Linked DNA regions of Homo sapiens: region 1 is linked to region 2. Evidence: promoter capture Hi-C in 16 types of primary human blood cells and fetal thymus (Javierre and others, 2016). All regions are on one chromosome and are shown on one strand. The core of a region is centred on a gene start or on the middle of the fragment in contact, and the rest is flanking DNA. Distances in the headings are between cores, read along the strand shown. Region 1 overlaps SMAD2 (SMAD family member 2). Region 2 holds the start of MBD1 (methyl-CpG binding domain protein 1).

The links. Contacts are between HindIII fragments. The CHiCAGO score rates a contact against its expected background, and 5 or more counts as called.
Region 1: a contact is called between a fragment that was not itself captured here and the fragment with the promoter of MBD1 in region 2, in 1 of 17 cell types (neutrophils). The highest score is 6.6, in neutrophils.

What each region holds. Positions count from the first base shown.
Region 1 is chr18:47,915,128-47,920,046 of GRCh38, reverse strand. The region is part of intron 1 of SMAD2 (SMAD family member 2); the gene reads left to right. Among named protein-coding and RNA genes, the nearest start is that of SMAD2, 13 kb to the left of the region's middle. RefSeq lists an enhancer at 1,071-1,683. The HindIII fragment of the contact is 8,355 bases long and covers 1-4,919 here.
Region 2 is chr18:50,279,518-50,284,630 of GRCh38, reverse strand. It overlaps MBD1 (methyl-CpG binding domain protein 1), which reads left to right and starts at 3,108. Exons shown (of 17, transcript NM_015846.4): 1 at 3,108-3,268; 2 at 4,614-4,748. The coding sequence starts at 4,639. It overlaps CXXC1 (CXXC finger protein 1), which reads left to right. Exons shown (of 15, transcript NM_014593.4): 9 at 69-253; 10 at 530-737; 11 at 816-926; 12 at 1,067-1,116; 13 at 1,270-1,366; 14 at 1,625-1,777; 15 at 1,892-2,284. The coding sequence ends at 2,038. RefSeq lists enhancers at 1,869-2,449, 2,450-3,030 and silencers at 3,176-3,285, 3,296-3,375. The HindIII fragment of the contact is 20,722 bases long and covers 1-5,113 here.

The DNA.
Region 1 (4,919 bases), core at 1-2,500, 2.4 Mb after region 2:
TAAGCCACCTAGTCTGTAGTACTTTGTTATACCGTCCTGAACTGACTAAAGCACACCAATTTTTACTTTTTTAATGTGGCTGATAGAAAATTTAACAATATGTGGTTTGCATCCTGTTTCTGTTGGATAGCACTGGTCTAAAGAAATCCATACATATATAAACATGTACTAACATAAGAATTCCACTTAGGCAAAATTTTTTTCTTTTGCGTTGTAATCTTTGGAATCAGAAATCTGCTGAGATATTGGTAAAGAGTGGTACAAAGCTGTTCTTTATGGCCCCATCAGTCACCCCCATCCATTTATCATTTGGCTCTAATCAGTGAAGGTTATGCTTCCATTGACTTCTACAGTGTTCACTTTGGAGAGAAGGCTGCCGTTGTTTTGGCTTCGTCTTTTTTAGCTTGCTCCGATTTGCACTGGTTGCCTCTACACCTAGTACGCCGCAGTCATTCTGAGATTTCCCCCTCACTAGCATATTAGGGATTGCCTTCATTTTTTCTTCTTTGTTAGATCTCCTATTCTTTGTGTGTGTGTGTGTGTGTGTGTGTGTGTGTGTGTGTGTGTGTGTGTGTGTATTTTTTTTTTTGAGACAAGGTCACACTCTGTTGTCTAGTTGGAGTGTAGTAGGGTGATCATGGCTCACTGCAGCCTTGCACTCCTGGGTTCGAGTGTAGATCGTATTCCTTTTTGTTTTACTAGTATCTCCTTTTGATGAGACATATTCTTCAGGACCTTCCTGGAGAGTGTGTTGGGGGTGGGGCGGTAAATACTTGGAGATGTTGCATGTCTGAAAATGCCTTTGTTCTGGCTAACATAAGTCTAGGTTGGAAATTTTTTTTTGAAAAATTATGAAGCCCAGAATTACGAAGCCATTGCTCTCTTGACTTTGTTTACAGTATACTGTTGACAAAACCAAAGCCATTTTGATTGTTTTCTATATAACCTATTTTTTTTCCTCCTTGGAAACTTTAAGCCCTTTCTTTGTCTTTGGCATTCTGGTTTTGCTACCATGGGCCTTCATGTAGGTTTGTTTTCATCTGTTTTACTGGGGTCTTGATGGGCCCTTTCCATCTAGAAACTCCCATCTTTCAGTTCAGGGGCTTTTTCTTAATTTATCTATTTGACTCCCCTACTCTGCATCTCTGTTTGGAACTGTTGTTGGGACATTGGACCTCTGGAACCAGTCTTCCAATTTTTTTCATTTTCTCTACTGTTTCCCATCTTTCTTTTCTACTTTCTGGAAGATTTCTTCTACTTTATCTTCTAGCACTTCTATTGATTTTTTTCCCCCGTTTCTGCTGTCAAGCTATGCAAGAGCTGTTAAGTTCTCTGAATGCTGCCTTTGAGAGCATGCTGCTCTTTCTTCAGGGTTGCTCAGTCTTATTTCTCTGGCCATGTTGATGTTTTAAAAATGTTTTCTTTCTCTGTATAGTCTTTTCCTGAAGCTGAATTTTTCTGGTTTTGTTTGACGTTTTTCCTCAGATAAAGTAATTCTTAAGAAGTGGGGATCTAAAAAGCTGATCAAAAACTCAACATGTGGGTGAAACTTGTCTCCTTTCAGTTTCACTGGAGAGGGATCTGAGCAGGCAGGCTGTTTGTTGGTAAACTCCCAATATTAGCATCTATATGCCTTTCCTCCTGGGTCGGTCAGGTACCCTAGTGAAGTCTTTTGATCTGAATAACTGGGCGGAGGTCTGGCTGCTAGTATTTGGGAGCCAAAACCCAGTGGAGGAAGGGGTTTGGGAGTCGACATTTAACACAGCGTGCTCATGTTCATTCACACCCTCTTTTCTTCCTACTTATACCCAGGCCATCTCCTAGTCCAGGGATTTTGTTTTCCCCTTTGCAGAAAGTAAACGTTGAGGCAGAGGATTAGTTATCCAGAGACAGTAGGGGCGGAAATCTAAGAACTGAATTCCTTTCTACAAAGCTCTTAACAAGTGCTACCTATTATTCCTTCCCCTGCCTGGCCCTCAGTTCCTGCCGTGACTTGCTGTTGGTTCCTTAACTTTTTGAGGTTTCTGTGTTAATCAATGGTTTTCAGCTTTTCCTACAGCTAGCCTAGAGTTAGTAGTTTCTGATCTGTTCAATTACTGCTCACCCATTTTCCAGCCATTAAAATTTTGCTTCTGTTTTCTCCTTACCTCTTCTCCCTATCCTCATGAGGTTTCTGGTTTTTAAAAATTCCCTTGGTTAGGCGTGGTGGCTCATGCCTGTAATCCTAGCACTTTGGGAGGCTGAGGCAGGAGGATTGGTTGAGTCCAGGAGTTCAAGCCTAGACAACATAGGGAGAACCCATATCTTAAAAAAAAAATTCTTTATGGTTTTCAATAGGCTGTTTTCATCTACAATGCAATGATGAGTTAAAGTTTTCCATTAAAAATTTTTTTACCAATAACTCTCCAAAAGAATTGAAATAGAATAACGTATAACTCCAAGTCAGTGGGGATGAGGGGTGGAAATAAAGAGAAATTGATCACTCCAGTATAAGGCAGGGAAGAAGAAAAAAGAAAAGAAAAATGCATAGGTATTAGAAAACACAAAATAAGATGGTAGAAAATAAGCTGAAATATCTCCATAAACCCAATATGTAATCTCAGATTAAACTTGCTGGCTAAAGGAGAACAAAAATTTAAAAAATCCAACCAACTGTATTTTACAAGTGGAGATACTCCTAAAAGTATGATGACATAGTTTAAAAGCAAAGGAATGGAAAAGATATACTAGGTGTAATTTATAAGGTAAAATTGGAAGAATTACAGGTATAAATCAAATCTATAATCGTAGTAGAAAATTTTAATATACCTCTCAGTAATTTATGAAAGGGTAGATTTAAAAAACTACAAGGTTATGAAGGATTGGAAGAGTACAATTAGCAAGCACCCAACAATTACAGAAGATACATTCTGTAAGGGGAATCGCTTGAACCCAGGAGGCAGAGGTTGCAGTGAGCCGAGATCATACCACTGCACTCCAGGCTGGGCGACAGAGCGAGACTCCGTCTCAACAACGACAACAAAAATAGTGTCAGCGAGACTCTGTCTCAACAACGACAACAACAAAAATAGTGTCTTTGATTTAGTGCATGTAACTAAGTTGAAAAGAGTGCCAAGACTGATAGAGGAGAAAAAGAATGTACAAATGTATTGGAAATGAAGGGATGGTATAACTGCAGACAAACTGAGATTTTAAAACTGCAAGAATACTGTGAACAGTTTTATTTCTTTAAATTTGGAAACAGGTAAAGTGGACAATTTCTAGCAAAACAAATTACCAAGTTGGCTTAATAAGAATTAGAAACTTCACTAGATTATGATTTAAAAACTTAGTCATGTTTAGAAATATACCTATACCAGGCGGGGCATGGTGGCTACCACTTTGGGAGGCCAAGGTGGGCGATCACTTGAAGTCAGCAGTTTGAGACCAGCCTGGCCAACATGGTGAAGCCCTATCTCTATCAAAAATACAAAAATTAGCCAAGCATGGTTGCAGTCGCCTGTAATCCCAGCTAATCAGGTGGCTGAGGCAGAGCCCAGGAGACAGAGGTTGCAGTGAGACAAGATCGTGCCACTGCACTCCAGCCTGGGCGACAGAGTGAGACTCTGTCTCAAAACAAAACAAAACAAAACAAAATAAATAAATAAATATACCTGTACCAATGTAAAATTTTAAGTCCTCAAGCAAAACACCAGACTACAAATGAAGACCCCGTATGGGCAAGTGCAACCAAACGTGAGGGATTAACTCTAATCTTATACAAAATGTTACAGAAAAATTATTTTGCAAGGCTACTATAATCTTGATACCCCAACCAGATAGTGTGAGAAGGGGATATAGGCTGCATTCTCACCAAAGAACATGGCAATAAAAATTGTAGTTTGTAAAATGTTAGTATTTACTCAAAACAAAAATACCATGACTAATTAGGGTTTGTCTCAGGAATGTAGGGATGATTAAGCATTAGAAAACTCGTAAATGAAATTCATCATGTTAACACATTAAAGGAGAAAGGCCATATGATAATTTTGATGGACAACGGGAAAGCATATGATAACATTTAGTACTTGTTCATGACAAAAATTCTTAGGAAATGAATACAAGAGAACTTTCAAAAGGGTGTTAAAAAACACAGAAGAGTACATACGGTATAATTCCATCTATATGAATTTCTGGAACAGGTAAAATTAATAGTAATAGAAGTCAGTAGTTGCCTGACGGGGGAAGGTGGATTGACTGAAAAGGAACGTAAGGGAGACATCTGAGGTGCTGGAAATGTTGTTTTTTTGGGGATTGTGGTTACATTAGTGTAAACATTTGTTAGAATTATTGATTTCATGCCCACTCACGGTTCGCGACCCTCAGTTTAGAGAAATTGTAGAGTGCAGCATATGGTGAAATGTCTTTTTTAGCAAAGTGTGTGTGTATATACTAGGTTGCATGTAAAATGTACTTTTCACTGTGGGACTTTTTTTGGTTAAAAAGTTTGAAAGTTTGAAATTTTCTGCCCTAGAAGAGCTTTTACATGGTATAAAATGATATATACCAGCCTATTCATAGCAGGTTGTGAGAGAGGAAAATTGGAAACCTAACTAGTCATCCAGAGTGAATGGACAGTGAACTGTGCTAGTCATAAAATGGAATGCCATGTGACAGCTAAAATGAATGAACTAGGATTTAGGATTATGTATGTATCAGCATGGACTGAACAGTATCACACTTTCATATAAATTTATAAAATGTACAGAACTGTATTGTATGGATACAATATGTAGCAAAACTGTTAAATGACCATGGGGGAACATCAGGATAGTGATAATCTCTGAGAAGCAAGAGGGAGGGAAATGTTATCAAAGAGGAATACATAGGGGGCTTTAGCTGTATTCGTATCTTATTTCTTATGTCTGATCAAGTACTGC
Region 2 (5,113 bases), core at 1,859-4,358:
TGGAGCAAGGGTCTGGGGTCTGGGGCTGACTTTGACTCCACCCTGACCTGACTTGTCTTGCTCAACAGAAGGAGGAGCGATACAAGCGGCATCGGCAGAAGCAGAAGCACAAGGATAAATGGAAACACCCAGAGAGGGCTGATGCCAAGGACCCTGCGTCACTGCCCCAGTGCCTGGGGCCCGGCTGTGTGCGCCCCGCCCAGCCCAGCTCCAAGTATTGCTCAGATGACTGTGGCATGAAGCTGGCAGCCAAGTGAGTCATTCCTGAGAGGTTCAAGGGAGTCAGGAAGTGCATGGTAGGGCCTGACCACAGCCTTCTGTATGTCTACCAGTCAATCAGCTATCCACCAGTCACCAAACAGCCACTACCCACTCACCCATCCACCTACCCACCCACCTGCCCGTGTGTCCATCCAGCCACCATTCCGCCAGTCACCTATTTACTTCTCCTTTTGCCATTTGCGTCTATTTTGCCATTCTCACTTACTGATCACCTCACTCATTCTGTTGCTTGCTACCTTCCCTGCAGCCGCATCTACGAGATCCTCCCCCAGCGCATCCAGCAGTGGCAGCAGAGCCCTTGCATTGCTGAAGAGCACGGCAAGAAGCTGCTCGAACGCATTCGCCGAGAGCAGCAGAGTGCCCGCACTCGCCTTCAGGAAATGGAACGCCGATTCCATGAGCTTGAGGCCATCATTCTACGTGCCAAGCAGCAGGCTGTGCGCGAGGATGAGGAGGTGAGCAAGCAGGGGCGCAGCAGAGCAGGGCCTGTACTTTGTCCTTCCCAGCCTTATTGTTCCTTCCATTCCATGCAGAGCAACGAGGGTGACAGTGATGACACAGACCTGCAGATCTTCTGTGTTTCCTGTGGGCACCCCATCAACCCACGTGTTGCCTTGCGCCACATGGAGCGCTGCTACGCCAAGGTTGGGGTGTCAGACTGAGGGGGCGGACCATGTGGGAACATCAGTGGGCCAGTGGGGGACAGATTTGTTGTCTGGGTGGTGTCTTGGGAGGGCATGCAGCGCACATCCACAGTTCCCTCCATTTGTGCTCATCCCTCCAGTATGAGAGCCAGACGTCCTTTGGGTCCATGTACCCCACACGCATTGAAGGGTAAGTGAGGGTGCCACGCAGTGAGAGGTGGGGGGTTAAGGCGGGGGTCAGAAGTGGGATGTGTGTGGAGCTGGGGCAGGATACGGGCAACCAGCCAGGACAGATGGACCTCCCTTCCCTCCCTCTACTGCCCTCTCTACTCCAAATCCCCAGGGCCACACGACTCTTCTGTGATGTGTATAATCCTCAGAGCAAAACATACTGTAAGCGGCTCCAGGTGCTGTGCCCCGAGCACTCACGGGACCCCAAAGTAAGGTTTTCCCTCAGCTCCTCCCATTTTGCCCCTCCTCCCTGCCTCGCTGTCCCACATTCATCCCTTCCTTCCTCACCTCACTTTTCCTTCACTTTTTCCTCTCAGCTTCCCTGCTGCTTCACCCTCCATTCCTCCTTTTCCATGCCTCCTCACCGTTCCCTGAACCCTCCATTCTTTTCCTTCTCCCTCCTTGAGCCCCCATTCCTATTCTCCCTTATCACCGCTATTCATCCCCCCAACCTGGCCTCCTTGCAGGTGCCAGCTGACGAGGTATGCGGGTGCCCCCTTGTACGTGATGTCTTTGAGCTCACGGGTGACTTCTGCCGCCTGCCCAAGCGCCAGTGCAATCGCCATTACTGCTGGGAGAAGCTGCGGCGTGCGGAAGTGGACTTGGAGCGCGTGCGTGTGGTAGGTTTCTGTGCGGTTTTGGTGCTGCATGTGGTAGGTTTCCATGTCGGACGTGGCCGGGGCAGGCGGGGCTGCAGGTGTTCCTGCTTAGGACTCCTGCCGCTCCCTTGGCAGTGGTACAAGCTGGACGAGCTGTTTGAGCAGGAGCGCAATGTGCGCACAGCCATGACAAACCGCGCGGGATTGCTGGCCCTGATGCTGCACCAGACGATCCAGCACGATCCCCTCACTACCGACCTGCGCTCCAGTGCCGACCGCTGAGCCTCCTGGCCCGGACCCCTTACACCCTGCATTCCAGATGGGGGAGCCGCCCGGTGCCCGTGTGTCCGTTCCTCCACTCATCTGTTTCTCCGGTTCTCCCTGTGCCCATCCACCGGTTGACCGCCCATCTGCCTTTATCAGAGGGACTGTCCCCGTCGACATGTTCAGTGCCTGGTGGGGCTGCGGAGTCCACTCATCCTTGCCTCCTCTCCCTGGGTTTTGTTAATAAAATTTTGAAGAAACCAAGGAAGCTGTCTCCACATTGCTGCGGTTGCAACTGTTCCAGACTTCTGGATAAGATGGGGGGCGCCTGCACCCCGCGAGAGCCCAGGGACCCACATTCCCAGCCTCCCACGGGCAGAGGGTCTACGCAGCGCGCCTTCAGTGTGGTGACACCGCCCATGCATGCTCCTGTCTCCCACCCAGAGCTGTCGTCCGCTGTGGACGCCAGGCCCCGCCTTTTCCCCACAAGCCCCACGTTGGGGATCCGCCTCCTGCAGGGGCGCGCCCTCCCGCGTGCCTCAGTTTACCTGCGGTGTGGCACCGCCCCTTTCCCCGCCCCGCGCGCTCCCACAGCTGTTCGGCGGGGAGGAGGGAGCGGGACACGACCCCCCCTGGGGTTGATGTTCGGAGGGACCCACGAACACAGGATAGACCCCAGCGAGAGGTGGGAGAGGAGAGCGCCGGCAGGGCCAGGGAGTGCGCAGGCGCGAAGCAGCTTCCTTGCCGCGTTCGGTATCGGCTGTGGAGACCGCGGGAGGGAAGGGAGGGCGCAGGCGCAAGCCCTCCCCGACCGCTTCCCTTCAGGTTGAGGCTGGAAAGCGCATGCGCCAGCTAGATGGGCAGCGAGGAGAGCCGCAACTGCCAGTCCCTCGAAGGGGTTAGCTGTCGTTGAACGTCAGCACGCAGATGCAACTGGCTCTCGGCAGGGGGGCGCGCGCACCGCTGCGGAGCGCCGGCCCGTAGGCGCGGGAGCCTCCCTATTAAGGGCACGCGACATCGAGGCAATAGTGCGCAGGTGCTTAGCCAGAGGCGGAGCCCGAGAGGCAGGCAGCGGACTTCCGGTTCCGGGAGCAACGAACAGCCGCGGAGGCGACAGCTACCGCTTCAGAGGAGGCGGCCGCGGAGGAGGAGGAAGGGGAGGAGGGCGAGGCGGGAGGTGCAGGAGGGACCCTCGCCATGGGTCCACGGGCCTAGAGTGGCGGAAGATACCGGCCTGGTGCCAAACTGGTGAGACAGCCTTGGGGCTGGACGTGGAGAGCGCTCAGGCGGAGGATGGGAAGGAATTGTGGCTCAGAACGCTGACGGGGAGGAATGAAGGGCCCTCAGGCCGATAAGGGGGAGGAATGGCGGCGTCGGAATACTGACGAGGAGAAATGGGGGGATTTAGGCTGAGGACGGGAAGGAATGCAGCTCTGAACTCTGACAGGTAGGAGTGTCGGGATCCTGGGACGAGGACGGAGAGGAATGGTGGAGATCAGAACGCTAAAGGGAGACATCGGGGCATCTGAAGTTGAGAGAGAAATGGGGGTTCAGAACTCTGAGAGGGAGAAATGAGGGGCCCTCAGGCTGATGACAGGAGAAATAGAGGCTTTGGAATGCTGAAAGGGAGGAATAGGAGGCCCCATATAGAGGACGAGGAGCAGTAGGGGATCAGAATGGTGACAGTTAGGGATGGCATGATCCCGGGACAAGAACAGAGAGAATGGAGGAGGGTTCGGAATGCTGAGGGGAGAAATTAGGGTCTCTCTGGATGATAAGGGAGGAATGGAGGATGAGAACAGTAAGGAGGAGAAGTGGGGAACTTTTTGGCTGTAGAGGAAGGTTTGGGAGCTCAGACTAGGGAGAAATTGTGGGTGAGAACATTGAAGGAGAAGAAAAATAAGGGGGGAGGTCTTGGGCTGAGGAAGGGGAGGCATGGGAGGCTTCCAGTGTGAGGAATGGAAAAGATGAGGGGCTGTTCAGGCTATGGGTTGGAGCAGTTGTGTCTCGCAGAGGAAGTCGAGGTTGTAACACTGAGGTAGCAGGATAAGAGGACATCAGGCAGAGAAGGAATGGAGTGGTTAAAACACTGAAGGAGGGAAATTAGGAACTCCTGGGTCAAGGAAGGGGGGAATGAGAGACTACTGAAGTCAAGTAGTGAGGGCAAGAGAAATGGGGCCCTTTGGGGCTGAGGATGGGGACTATGGGGGTCTTGGGGTGATAAAATAGAGGGATAGAGGCCCTTAGGTCAGTGACAGGGAGGAATGAGGGGGAAGGATGAAAAGTTTCTGGATTGGCAGTGAGGAGAAATGATGGGTTGTCAGTCTGAGGATAGAGAGGAGTAGGGGATTAGGACACTGAGAATAAGAAACAGGGATCCTTGGGTTGAGGAATGATGATATCCTAGGCCCAGAATAGGAAAGAATGGGGTGAGAATATGAGGGGTTTCTTTTCCATATATGGGCTGGTTGCCTGTGGCAGGTCCTAGGGCTTGGGCAAGCACTAATGGATACCAGTGATTTGTGTGGCCTGGGGCACAGTGTTGTCCCTTCCTAGAGCCTCAGTTTCCCTCATCCCTTCCACCCCCTTTCAGGCTACTGCTGCTTCCTGTGGCCTCCATGGCTGAGGACTGGCTGGACTGCCCGGCCCTGGGCCCTGGCTGGAAGCGCCGCGAAGTCTTTCGCAAGTCAGGGGCCACCTGTGGACGCTCAGACACCTATTACCAGAGGTACTGGGTGGGTAGTGGGCAGAGTCAGGAGTGGGGTAGAGCCTGATTCTGGTAAAATCAAATGGTGTGGTTAAATTTATGGATGAAGTTTAAATTATGCACATACAGTTAATCCTTATTAGCGGATTTTATGTTTGAATTTCACCTACTTAATAAAATTTATTTGTAACTTAAAAGTCACTACTCACAGTGCATTTGTGATTATTCAAGAATACGTACAGAGCAGTGAAAAACTGTCACTCAATGCATGTATTTCTAGCTGAGGCTGAAGGAGCCCTTTTCAGCTTTAATACTGTAAACAGGTGTCCTTTTCGTGGTCTGTTTAGTGTCACATTTTTCTAATTTTTGTACTTTTTGGTGATTTT